3 separate regions of the Homo sapiens genome follow, and regions 2 and 3 are each linked to region 1. Evidence: promoter capture Hi-C in human tissues and cell types (Jung and others, 2019). All regions are on one chromosome and are shown on one strand. Each heading gives the region's core, a stretch centred on a gene start or on the middle of the fragment in contact. The rest is flanking DNA. Distances are from core to core; before and after follow the strand shown. Region 1 holds the start of SCP2D1 (SCP2 sterol binding domain containing 1). Region 2 overlaps DTD1 (D-aminoacyl-tRNA deacylase 1). Region 3 has its middle 26 kb from the start of SCP2D1-AS1.

What was found. The method cuts DNA at HindIII sites, captures the fragments that hold promoters and counts their contacts. A contact is called where the count stands out against the background at its distance.
Region 2: a fragment that was not itself captured here is called in contact with the fragment with the promoter of SCP2D1 in region 1 in 1 of the 25 tissues and cell types used here (spleen).
Region 3: a contact is called between a fragment that was not itself captured here and the fragment with the promoter of SCP2D1 in region 1, in 8 of the 25 tissues and cell types used here (H1 embryonic stem cells, IMR-90 fibroblasts, aorta and 5 more).

What each region holds. Positions count from the first base shown.
Region 1 is chr20:18,812,153-18,815,869 of GRCh38, forward strand. SCP2D1 (SCP2 sterol binding domain containing 1) reads left to right here and starts at 1,631. Exons shown (of 1, transcript NM_178483.3): 1 at 1,631-2,226. The coding sequence starts at 1,664. The coding sequence ends at 2,134. All of the region lies in intron 2 of SCP2D1-AS1 (SCP2D1 antisense RNA 1), which reads right to left. The HindIII fragment of the contact is 11,706 bases long and covers 1-3,717 here.
Region 2 is chr20:18,749,756-18,753,472 of GRCh38, forward strand. All of the region lies in intron 5 of DTD1 (D-aminoacyl-tRNA deacylase 1), which reads left to right. Among named protein-coding and RNA genes, the nearest start is that of LCDR, 42 kb to the right of the region's middle. The HindIII fragment of the contact is 5,781 bases long and covers 1-3,717 here.
Region 3 is chr20:18,853,917-18,857,633 of GRCh38, forward strand. No RefSeq gene overlaps it. Among named protein-coding and RNA genes, the nearest start is that of SCP2D1-AS1, 26 kb to the left of the region's middle. The HindIII fragment of the contact is 7,453 bases long and covers 1-3,717 here.

The DNA.
Region 1 (3,717 bases), core at 381-2,880:
AATCACAGAGGGAAAAACAGTAACTCTACAGTGCAGAAGCCTGAAGGAGCCGCTTTAACCAAGTGATCAAGGACAACATCGGCAGAAATGGGACATAACATCATGGACGCCTGCTATGGCACAGTGGGAAGAGCACAGGTCACCTCTGTGGCATCCTTGTCCCAAATGCATAACCTCCACCTAACCAGGAGAAAGCATCAGGCAGTCCTCAAAGGAGGGACATTTTTGGGAATAACTGGCCAGTATTCAAGTGTCAAGGTAACGATAGACAAAGATTGAAGAGCTGCCCCAGACTGCAAGGCACTAGGGAGACCTGCAACCAAATAGATATGGTCTCACATGGTCTGTAGATTAGTTAGTAGTCATGAACCAATGTGAATTTCTCAGATTAGATCACTGTACTGTGATTATATAAGATGTTAGTTTTGGGGAAAGCTGGGAGAAGGTTAAACAGGTACTATTTTTGCAAACTTTTTATAAGACTGAAATTATTTCAGAATAAAAAGTAAAGAAATAAACAGGTGGACTTTGGAGTCATTCTGCCTCTCCTCAAATCTGGCTACACTACTTACTAACTGTGTGACATTGGGCAAGTTACTTCATTTCTCCCCTCAGTTTCCTTATATGTAAAATGGGGATAAAAAGAATACCTATCTGGGAGGCCGAGGTAGGTGGATCACTTTAGCCCAGGAGTTTGAGACCAACCTGGGCAGCATGGTGAAACCCCATTTCTACAAAAAGTACAAAGATTAGCCAGGTGTGGTGGCACACGCCGTATTCCCAGCTACTTGGGAGACTGAGGTGGGAGGATCAAATGAGCCCAGGAGGCAGAGGCTGCTGTGAGCAGAGATCGCGCCACTGTACTCCAGCCTGGGTGACAGAGCAAGACCTTGTCTCAAAAAAAAAAAAAAAAAAGAAAAAATACCTATCATAGAGGGTTGTAATGAGAGTTAAATGTGTTAATACATGTGTAGTACTTAGAACTCTGCACCTTGGCCCAGAGCAAGGGCTATACTATTACGTGTAATTATCAGAGGAGACTGGCAGCATCTTCTGATCTTAGGGACATTTAATCTCTCTGTGTGTGTCTCACTGTGCTTCTGGAAAGTTTCTGATGCAGGCTCCTGGACTGATTCCTTCTCCAATCAATTACTCTGGCCTAAAAGCATTTCCCTTTCTACCAGCAGCCAGATAAAGCCAAATTCAGCACTAGGATCTGTAGTATTAACTTAAGTATTACCCACTTAATGGGACTTAAGTGTTACCTAGTTTTAGAGGAATAAGAATAACTTCTGTCTCACGTTGGGTTTCACTGAGGAGATGTCTGCATTGGAAAGACAGAGCTCATGTCACTAAAGAAGCTTCTGGGGCCAGTTTCCCTTAACCCCATTGCAGCCTGCAGACCTTTTGGGCTTGCAGGACCAACATCCCTGATTGGTTTGGGAGGGGCGTGTGTGTGTGGATCTGCCTCACAATGGCCTGTCTGAGCCCTTATCTGAGGTCACACGTTATCATTTGTTTGGCCAATAAGACTGTAGCACACACACCAGCTTCAGTCCCCACTTGGCCTTACCTTTGATGTCACAATCTGACCTGTGGGTATTAATCTGGTCACAGCTGCTCACAGACTAGATGGCAAGGTCCAGGGGACTAGCACAGGAAGATGTGGAAGAGAAGTGACCATCAACCCAAGATCAAAGCAGAGGATGGACCTCTGGTGGGCCAGTTCGAGGTTCTGGGTTCAGTTCCAGAACCTGCCATGCCACATCCTCTAGAGCTGTCAGAATTTGAGAGCTTCCCAGTGTTTCAGGACATTAGGCTTCACATCAGGGAAGTGGGAGCTCAATTGGTCAAGAAAGTCAATGCCGTCTTTCAGCTGGACATCACCAAAAATGGGAAGACCATTTTGCGGTGGACCATTGATCTGAAGAATGGTTCTGGGGACATGTATCCGGGACCTGCCAGGCTCCCAGCAGACACTGTCTTTACAATCCCGGAGTCTGTCTTTATGGAGCTGGTTTTGGGCAAAATGAACCCGCAGAAGGCTTTCCTTGCCGGAAAGTTCAAAGTGAGTGGCAAGGTTCTGCTTAGCTGGAAGCTGGAAAGGGTTTTCAAAGACTGGGCTAAATTTTAAGCATGCAAAAATACCAAGGAAGAACTTCTCTTCGATGATAATGTCGAGTGGAAATCATGCTTAATCTGAAGATTAAAGTAAAAAGTATCCAATATTTTTACTCAAATTCTTCCTATTCAAGTTTAATTGATTTTCCTGTTGATGGGTAAATTTTCAGGGAGGGTTCTGAAGCAGTAAAAAGCGTTGTAGTGCATCAATTAGAATCTTTGTCTTTTTCTCTTTTTTTAGCTCCATTTATGCCCTTTATGCTCCATTTATGCCAGGGTGAGAGCCACGTGTAAAGAAATGGGTGATTATGATCATTGGAATTAAATACTCCAATGATTGTGTTCTTGAGACATTTTTCCTTTTCTAAAAAAGTTTGATGTTTTGGGGAAAGAAGTGATAACTATCATTGTGCAGGTGTGCATTCTGCATGGTAACTTGATTCCATGAGGAAACTTTACTATGAGACTGTGGGGTGCTAAGGGAATGGGGCACCACAGGTCTGTGGGTGGAACCCAGGCAATAGAGGGGATGGTGCTGTTGGTGTATTATAATTTCTGATGGTTTCAATTCCAAGAAACTTGAAGGGCTTGGGAGGTGTTCTAGGCCAGTGGTTCTTAACTGGAGCATGCATCAGAATCACCGGAAAGGTTGGTTAAAGTCTGGATTGCTGGGCTCCATCTCAGAGCTTCTACTCAGGAAATCTGGGCTGGAGAGAATGCACATTTCTAACAAGTTCCCAGGGGATGCTGATGGCACCACCCTTAGAGAATTCCAGCTCTGCTTCACTTCATGCCAAAGCTCTCAGTATTGACTGTAACTATTCTATTCTAGGCCAATGAGATGGTGCCATTAATTAAAGGATCTCCCAGAGACAGACCCCACAGCCCTCTGTGAGCCATTTATAAAGTATCCATGCTGTCAGGAGCTTGTGCATTGAACATTTTACAAAATCAGAGGGCAGCCTGGGAGATTTCCCTTCCGGAAGCTCCCTTCACATGTTGTCTGGGAGGATAGGATGAAGTCTGTTGCAGCTGATGCAAACTCCTTGTGGGTGAGTGTGTGTGTGTTCTTGGTTCACATGTGGTTTGTGTGTACCTTTGACTTGTGGGCTAAATATACACAGTGTGGATACTCTGAAACCTAGAGGAAAGTTTCATCACAACTGCCATGCTCAAACACCTACACAGTGTGGACACTCTGAAACCTGGGTGGAAGTTTCATCACAACTGCCATGCTCAAATACACGCCTACCAAATAATCCCACCATTCTGTTCTTGGGTATTTTGTTAAGAGAAAAGAAAGCATATGTACAAGCATAAAATAAACACTCGCATGCATGTGAATGTTCATGGCAGCTGTGTTGGGAGTAGTCCTAAACTGGAAACAAGCCACATGTTCATCAACAGGTGAATGGGTGGACAAATTGTGCGGTGTCATACCATGGAATATTACTTAGCCATGAAAAGGAAGAAATGATTGGCATACACACAAATGACAATGTGGATAAATGGCAAAATAATTATGCTGAGTGAAAGAAGACAGAGAAGACTGAGCACATACTACATGATTCGATTTATATTAAATACTAAAAAATG
Region 2 (3,717 bases), core at 330-2,829, 62 kb before region 1:
CCACAGAGGACACTGAGGACCCAGAGTACTGTTGACATTAAGGTGAAATGGAGCCTCTGTCTGGTCAGGAACGCCCCTATTGCTACTCAGCGCATGGAGGCTCATGAACAAGTTTAGATCGGCCCATGAAAGACAGAGGCCACGTTTTGTTTATACCGATGTATATGGTACTGTCTGGGTTTTGGACAAAGCGCACAAGGAAAACCATTTATTGATGGTTTACCATAGGCATCCAGTTGTTCTTCTTTACGTCAGGGTCAGCAGTGACGGTGTCAGGCATGGACAGATGTCCAGGCAGGGAGGAGTCCTTCAGAGCCGCCCACAACTAGCCGAGGACCAGAGCGGGGCTGGGTGCTCCTGCTTCCGAGAATTTAGCCATGTTCCTGGATTTGAAGATCCTAAACGGGACCAGAACCAAGTGACAGCTGGCATTCCAATGATATATTTGGGGTTTTTTGTTGCCCGTGGGTTTTGTTCCCCCTTCTGATGAAATTTGTCATCCCAGTAGGCCACAAAATCACCACCAAATATTCAGATATCTATGAGAGCTGGATTAAATGGTGACAGACAGAAGGTGACCCTGACATTTGTTTTGTTCCCCAGAACAACAGCAGCCCCCTCACTATGAAGGGAGTAGCACTTTTCATTTGCTTTTCTTTAAATACAGAAAGAGCCCTAGGGAATCTGGCAGGCCCTAAGGGGAGCAGCTTTGAGTTTCCAAGGCACGAGAGAGAAAGAAAAGGCAAAAGAAAATTGAATGAGAAACTGCATGATCTTGGGCATATTTTTCTTTGAAAATGATTCAAAAGCCTTCATGGTTCAGAGGACATTTCCAGGGCCTTGACATTTCTCTGTCACATTGCAAATGTTGCTTCTTATTTTACCAAGTGGACATGAAACTGCTAAAATTAACTGTGTTTTTGTCCTCTGTCTCAATCCTTCGGGCTCTCTCACCTTGCTGGGAGGAGTTGAGGTTTTCTGTGAGGATGCAGCTCTATTATTTCTCCTTTCTGGCCACTGCTAAAGGCACTAGGGCCACCTCTCACTAAAATGATGTGGTTTCTGATTTGATTGCAGGGTCAAGTATTACCTCATTTGAGTATTGACTTAGCTGCTGTAATTAGGGTGTGAGAGGAGTGTGCTCCTGACTGGCACCCCACATTTCTGTCCTCAAATGGCAACACACTTGAAACCAAACAAGAAAGTGTTTTGGAAGCTGCCATCTGTTTGCTTTTTCAATGTGACCTTTGTCTGAATAGTAAGATGTGTCCTGGCTGAGCACACTTCTTCCTAATGAGCTACAGCAGCCGTGTGTGTGTGTGTGTGTGTGGGTGTGTGTTTTCTGTTGAAAAGGTATTCAGTCCCTTTTCACTGTTCTTTTCGCCATACAAGGTAGGACTCCTTTCATTCTCTGAGCTTCACTTTGCTTCCCTGTATCAACATTTGTACCACATTCTCATGTCCATGTGCTGGTATTTCATGGTATAAAACTAGCTGTGTCTCTGGGTAGTGTTTTTATCTTTTTTTAACTTAAAACAATTTTTTTAGTGGTTGCCCTGGAGTTTACAATATACATTTTTAACTAGTCTAAGTCCACCTTGAATGACACTCTACCACTTTACCTGTAACAGGCACCTTATAACAACAGCATATTCCCAGTGACATTGCTATCATTCATTTCACTTTACATATGTGATACTCACCTAATACATTGTCACTATCATTAACTTAAATAGTCTTTTTTTTTTTTTGAGGTGGAGTCTCATTCACTCTGTCACCCAGGCTGGAGTGCAGTGGTGCAATCCCTGCTCACTGCATCCTCCACCTCCCAGGTTCAAGCGATTCTTGTGCCTCAGCCTCCCTAGTAGCTGAGATTAAAGGCATGCACCAACATGCCTGGCTAATTTTTTGTATTTTTTGTAGAGATAGGGTTTTAACATGTTGGCCAGGTTGCTTTTGAACTGCTGGCCGCAAGTGATCCACACACCTCAGCCTCCCAAAGTGCTGGGATTACAGGAGTGAGCCACCATGGCCGGCCTTTGTTTTTGAAGGATAATTTTGCTGGTATAGACTTCTAGACTTGTAGTTTTTTTTTTTTGTTGTTGTTGTTGTTGTTGTTTTAATTTGCCTTTCTTTAAAAACACAAAGAGCCCTAGGAGCCTCACAGCCCTAGAGGAGCAGCTTTGAGTTTCCAAGGCATGAGAGAAAAAGAAATATTTAAATATTTTCAATACTTAAATTTTTATTCCTCTCTCTCCTTGTTTGCAGTTTCTTATGAGAAGTCCCCTGTAATTCTCATTCTTATTGCTCTATAGGTAAGGTGGGTTCTCCTTACCCCACCCCCAGCCCCCAGCTTCTTCAAAATTTTGTCTTTGGTTTTCCGCAGTTTGGATATGACGTGCCTAGGTGTGGTTCTTGCTTGGTATTTTCTGAGCTTCTTGGATCTGTGATTTGATGTCTGTTATTAAGTTTGGAAAGCTCTTGGCCATTAATACTTCAATACCCCTAGCTTCATTCACAATTTCCTCTCTGTTCTCTCTTCTCCTTTTGGTATTCCAATTATATATATGGTACATCTTTTGCAATTGCTCTACAGTCTTGGATAGTCTGTTCTTTTTTTCTCATTCTTTTTCTCTTTGTTTTTGGTTGGGAAAGTTTGTAATGACCTATCTTTGAGCTCACTGATTCTTCCTTGGCTGTGTCCAGTTTATTCATGAGCCCATCAGAGGCATCCTTCATTTCTGTTACAGTGTTTCTGATTTCTATTATTTCCTTTTGTTTCTTTCTTGGAGTTTCCGTCTCTCTGCTTACATTACCTATCTGTTCTTGCATATTGTTTACTTTTTCATTAGAGCCCTTAACATATTAATCATAGTTTTAAAAAGTTCCCTGTCTGATAATTCCAACATCTGTATCATAGTCCCAGTCTGATTCTGGGGATCTTTTTGGGTCCGCTGACCTTGAATCTGTAACTGTATGGCTTTCAGTACATTTGGGACATTTTAAGTAATATCTATTCAAATATTTTTGTCTGCCCCATTCTTCTTCTTACCTGGAGGTTACTGTTCCCAAACCTTAAGTGTCATTCTGGTTTTTTATTATCCATGAGGTTGGTTTGCTTCCTCACTGATGCAGAGTAGCATGTTATATTACTTTACTAGTAGTGGGACTGGATTTTCTCTATGCCCAGGCTTCCACCTCCATTACCTTATTTATTAGAAAATAAATTGGCCATTACCTTATTGATTAGAAAATAACTGGCCATGATTAGTGATTCCATCTATTGCTAAGGTGCAGAGCCAGGCTTACAAATAATTTAGAGTGTGCCATCTAATACAGTAGCTACTAACTGCATGTGGCTATTGAGATGTAAATTAAAATTAAATAAAATTTAAAATTCACTTTCTCAGTCTCAGTAGCCATATTTCAAGTGCTCACTAGCTACATACAGCTAGTGGCTGCTATTCTATCATTGCAGAAAATTCAACTAAACAGCACCAACCTGTAGGGATCAAGTTATGATTTTGATACTGTCATCTGAATCACTTTAAGTACTATAAGATTGACATTGGCTGGGTGTGGTGGCTTATGCCTGTAATCCCAGCATTTTGGGAGGCCGAGGCGGGTGGATCACCTGAGGTCAGGAGTTCAAGATCAGCCTGCCCAACATGGTGAAACCCCGTCTCTACAAAAAATACAAAAATTAGCCAGGTGTGG
Region 3 (3,717 bases), core at 625-3,124, 42 kb after region 1:
CATTTGAACCTTATAATTTTTAACTCTGAAAATCAGATTCTTCCCTTTCCACATGGTTTCCTTTATTTTTAATTGTTGTACTGCATTAAAAGTTTAAATAGACTGAAATTAATTGCAACTTTCCATTCAAGCTTTTGCCTGGAAGTTGAAAGCCTTCAAACAGACTCCAAGTTTCAAAATAGTTACATCAGACAGATCCTGCCAGTGCATTTTTTTGTCTTGGTGGGGAGATAGATTCCTGTGCTTTCTGCTTTGCCAATCTTCTTGTTGTCACTCTGCATATTTAGTTTTGTAAGAAATTTTCAAATGGGTTTCCAGCATGGATATGTCATTTCACATTCCTGCAAGCAATTAATGAACAATCCCATTTCTCTACACTATTACCAGCATTTGGTTTTGTCACTATTTTTTATTTTAGGCATTTTGATAGGTGCGTAGTGATGTCTCTCTATAGTTTCAATTAGCATTTCCTGATGACTAATGATGTTGAAAATCTTTTCATATGTTTTTTTTTTTTCCATTTGTATTTCCTCTTTGGCAAACTCTCTGTTCTTAAGGTGTAGGTGTCTTGATTCAGCTCCTGGAATCAAGCTTCATTAAAGTCCTTCTACATTCCTTGGCCCTAAATGCCATAATCTCAGGCAGCAGCAGTCTACTTCCTTTTTGCCAGTCTTCATGGAAGCCTCATTTTAGCTCCTGGCTGCAAGCAGTGACCCCGGCTTTCCCTCTTGTCTCAAAATGGAACACCTTTATTCCAATTACCCTAGCTGAAAAGAGCCAAACTGGCCTGTTACTGAGAAAATCCACACAGAAAATACATACTTCCTTTGCGTTCACTCAGGGCTTTTTAATTGTTCATTCCATAGTACCTCTTTCTTTGTTTTCCAGAACATGGATATCAACTCAACTTCAGGCATATGTGTTTTTTGAAGTTTCTCTGCCTAAAAGCCCTTTGGGTGACAGATGACTGGAAGGAAGATACTATGCTAGTGGGTAGGAGTTAGGTTGTGTCACTCTGGTAGACACTGTAGCTACCCTGTTCATATCCTCTAATCCCATACCAGAGGTCATCTGCAGGCCATTCTTGTACACATCATGGCATCTTGCATCTCTGCCTTAGCGGTTCTGGTGGTAGGCATGTGCTCTGTCTGTGAACAGGGCAGCATGAAAGTGTTGCAGACTTAATGCCTCAGAGACAACTCTCAACCAAAGAGGAATGAGAGTTGGTGGATTAATGCCCCTGCTTCCTCCCACCTCAATGATACAATATTAAGACTTGTTTTGCACAGACTTTGATCACAGTTTCCTACCAAGACTGAAGATTCTGTCATGTTTACTCATAAAGGCTCAATGTCTCTAAATAATAATGGGTTTTATTTTGAAATAATTTCAGACTTAGAGAAAACTTATGAGAATAGCACTATGGAATTCTTTTACTCTTTTCCCAGATGCCCCAAACATTAACATTTATCATATTTGCTTTATTATTCTTTCTCTCTATCTGACTTTCTCTCTCTCTTTTCTCCATGCCCCAAGCTTCAGTTTCTTAAAAGACAAGGACATCCTCTTGCATAACCACAGTGCAATCTTCAAAATCAGGAAATTAGCATAGATGCAATACTGTTAGTTAATCTACAGACCTTCTTCAAATTGTGTCAAGTGTCAATACAATCCTTTATAACAAAACCAAACCAAAAACATTTCCTGATCCAGAATTCCATCCAGGGTTATGAATTGCATTTAGTTAACATTTCTTTCTTCTCCTTTAATCTGGAACTTATTCTTCAGTCTTTCTTTGATTTTCATGACATTGACATATTTGAAGAGCATAAGACAGTTATTTTGTAGACTGTCCCTCAATTTTGTTTTGTCTGATATCCCTTCTGATTAGATTTAGTTGATATGCTTTTGGCAGGAATACCCCAGAAATGATGTGCATACATCTTTCTCAGTATATCACATCAGGAAGGAGATGATGCCTACTTGTTCCGTAATTGGTGACGTTAAGACCAATTGTTTTTTCTAAGTGAAAAACTTAAGAGGAAATCATCAAGGAGGAGCTCTGTTCTTAAAAATGAGGATTCATATGGCTGGTGGAATCAGATTTCCCTTAGACATTCTTCATTCCTATCCCTCATTTACATTATTTGTGCCTTGAGGGAAGGATTATGCATGTGAGAGGTGATGTATACACCCACATGTCAGGCCTGAGCTCTGGCCTCAGGAATTGTATAAGATGAGGATTCTGCTCTTCTGCCCAGCTCCTTGGACTCAGAGGAAGTTGGGAAATGGGGAGATGGGTTAGGGACAGTAATGTCCCTCCAGCATAGTCTGTTTTACCCAGCTCTGGTTGAGACATGGGTTAACAAATCCAGTGGGATCTATGCCTATCTATGTAGGTTTTACCTTCTTTGATAATAGACTAGGCATTCCAGCTGCCATGTTGTATATTTGTGGTTTACAAATGCAGTGCTGCTCATAAATACTCTTAGAAGAATATCATGCGAGGTTTTAAAAATTACTTAAACCCTTAAATCCTAGTTTCTTCATCTGTAAAGTGGTGGTCCTAATACTTTCTAGTGTAATTATGAAAATTAAATGTTATAATTGATATAAACTGCAGTAAGCACCTGGAATACAAAAATGTTCAATAAATATTATCTATTAATGTTAATGATAGTAACTAAAGAGAAGTCTGCACTGTGAGTTAAGGAATCTCAGTTTGAATTTCAACCTAAGTACTCCCTGGCTTAGTGAATTTGGCTAATCATCTAATCTCTGAGCCTTGGTTTTCTTGTCTGTAAATTGAGGGTAATAATATTGTTCCTAGATACCCCCATGGATTGTTGGAAGGAAGAAGTGGTCTCATATGTGTGAAAGCCATTTTCACAGTGGAATAATTTTGTAAATATGAGTGGATACTTACATTCCATCTCTATACCATGCTGGGCTGCACATCCATGAAAATTGTCTGGGTTTAGCTTATAGCAATGGGGCTGGAAGTGACCATTGGCTCCAAGACCCACCAGAGAAACCTACATTTCCTGCCTTGTCCCTCCCATAAATCCTGACTGTCTTTTAAGTCTGTCCCTAAAATGACCCTTGGAATGCCTTTGGTGGTTCCTATCCCTTTGTTGGCTGAATAGCCTGCCTGCTGTGGTATTGTGCCTCTATAGTCTCATTGCCCATGTGGGAGGCTGCTAGGCCTTGTGGGGCCCCTAGGCCGTGCGGAGCTCCACCACTGACACTGCTCAGGTCATTCTGCTGACCATGAGATGGGGAAGAACCCTCTAATCTGTGTAGTTGATATTGATAGGATTCATCACAATTTCTTACAGATCCATTGTACCAGTTGCTCTCAACCTTGGCTGCACATTGGTTATCACCTGGTGTGTTAGATTTCATATATATTTATGATTCTCTTTCTGTGGAATTACACACACACACACACACACAAATATATGAGAGACAGAGGTTGATTTATTTAAATAATTGGTTCGTGTGGCTGTGGTGGCTAACAAGTTCAAACTCTATAAGAACTTGCCAATAGGCTGAAAGTTCACATAAGAGTTGATGTAGTCTTGAGTCCCAGATTCACAGAGCAGGCTACTAGGCTGAAAACTCAGAGAGAATTTCTATATTGCAATCTTGAGACCAAATTCTTTCTTCCTTTGGAAACCTCAGTCTTTCTCTTTAAGGCCTTTTACTGGTTGGATG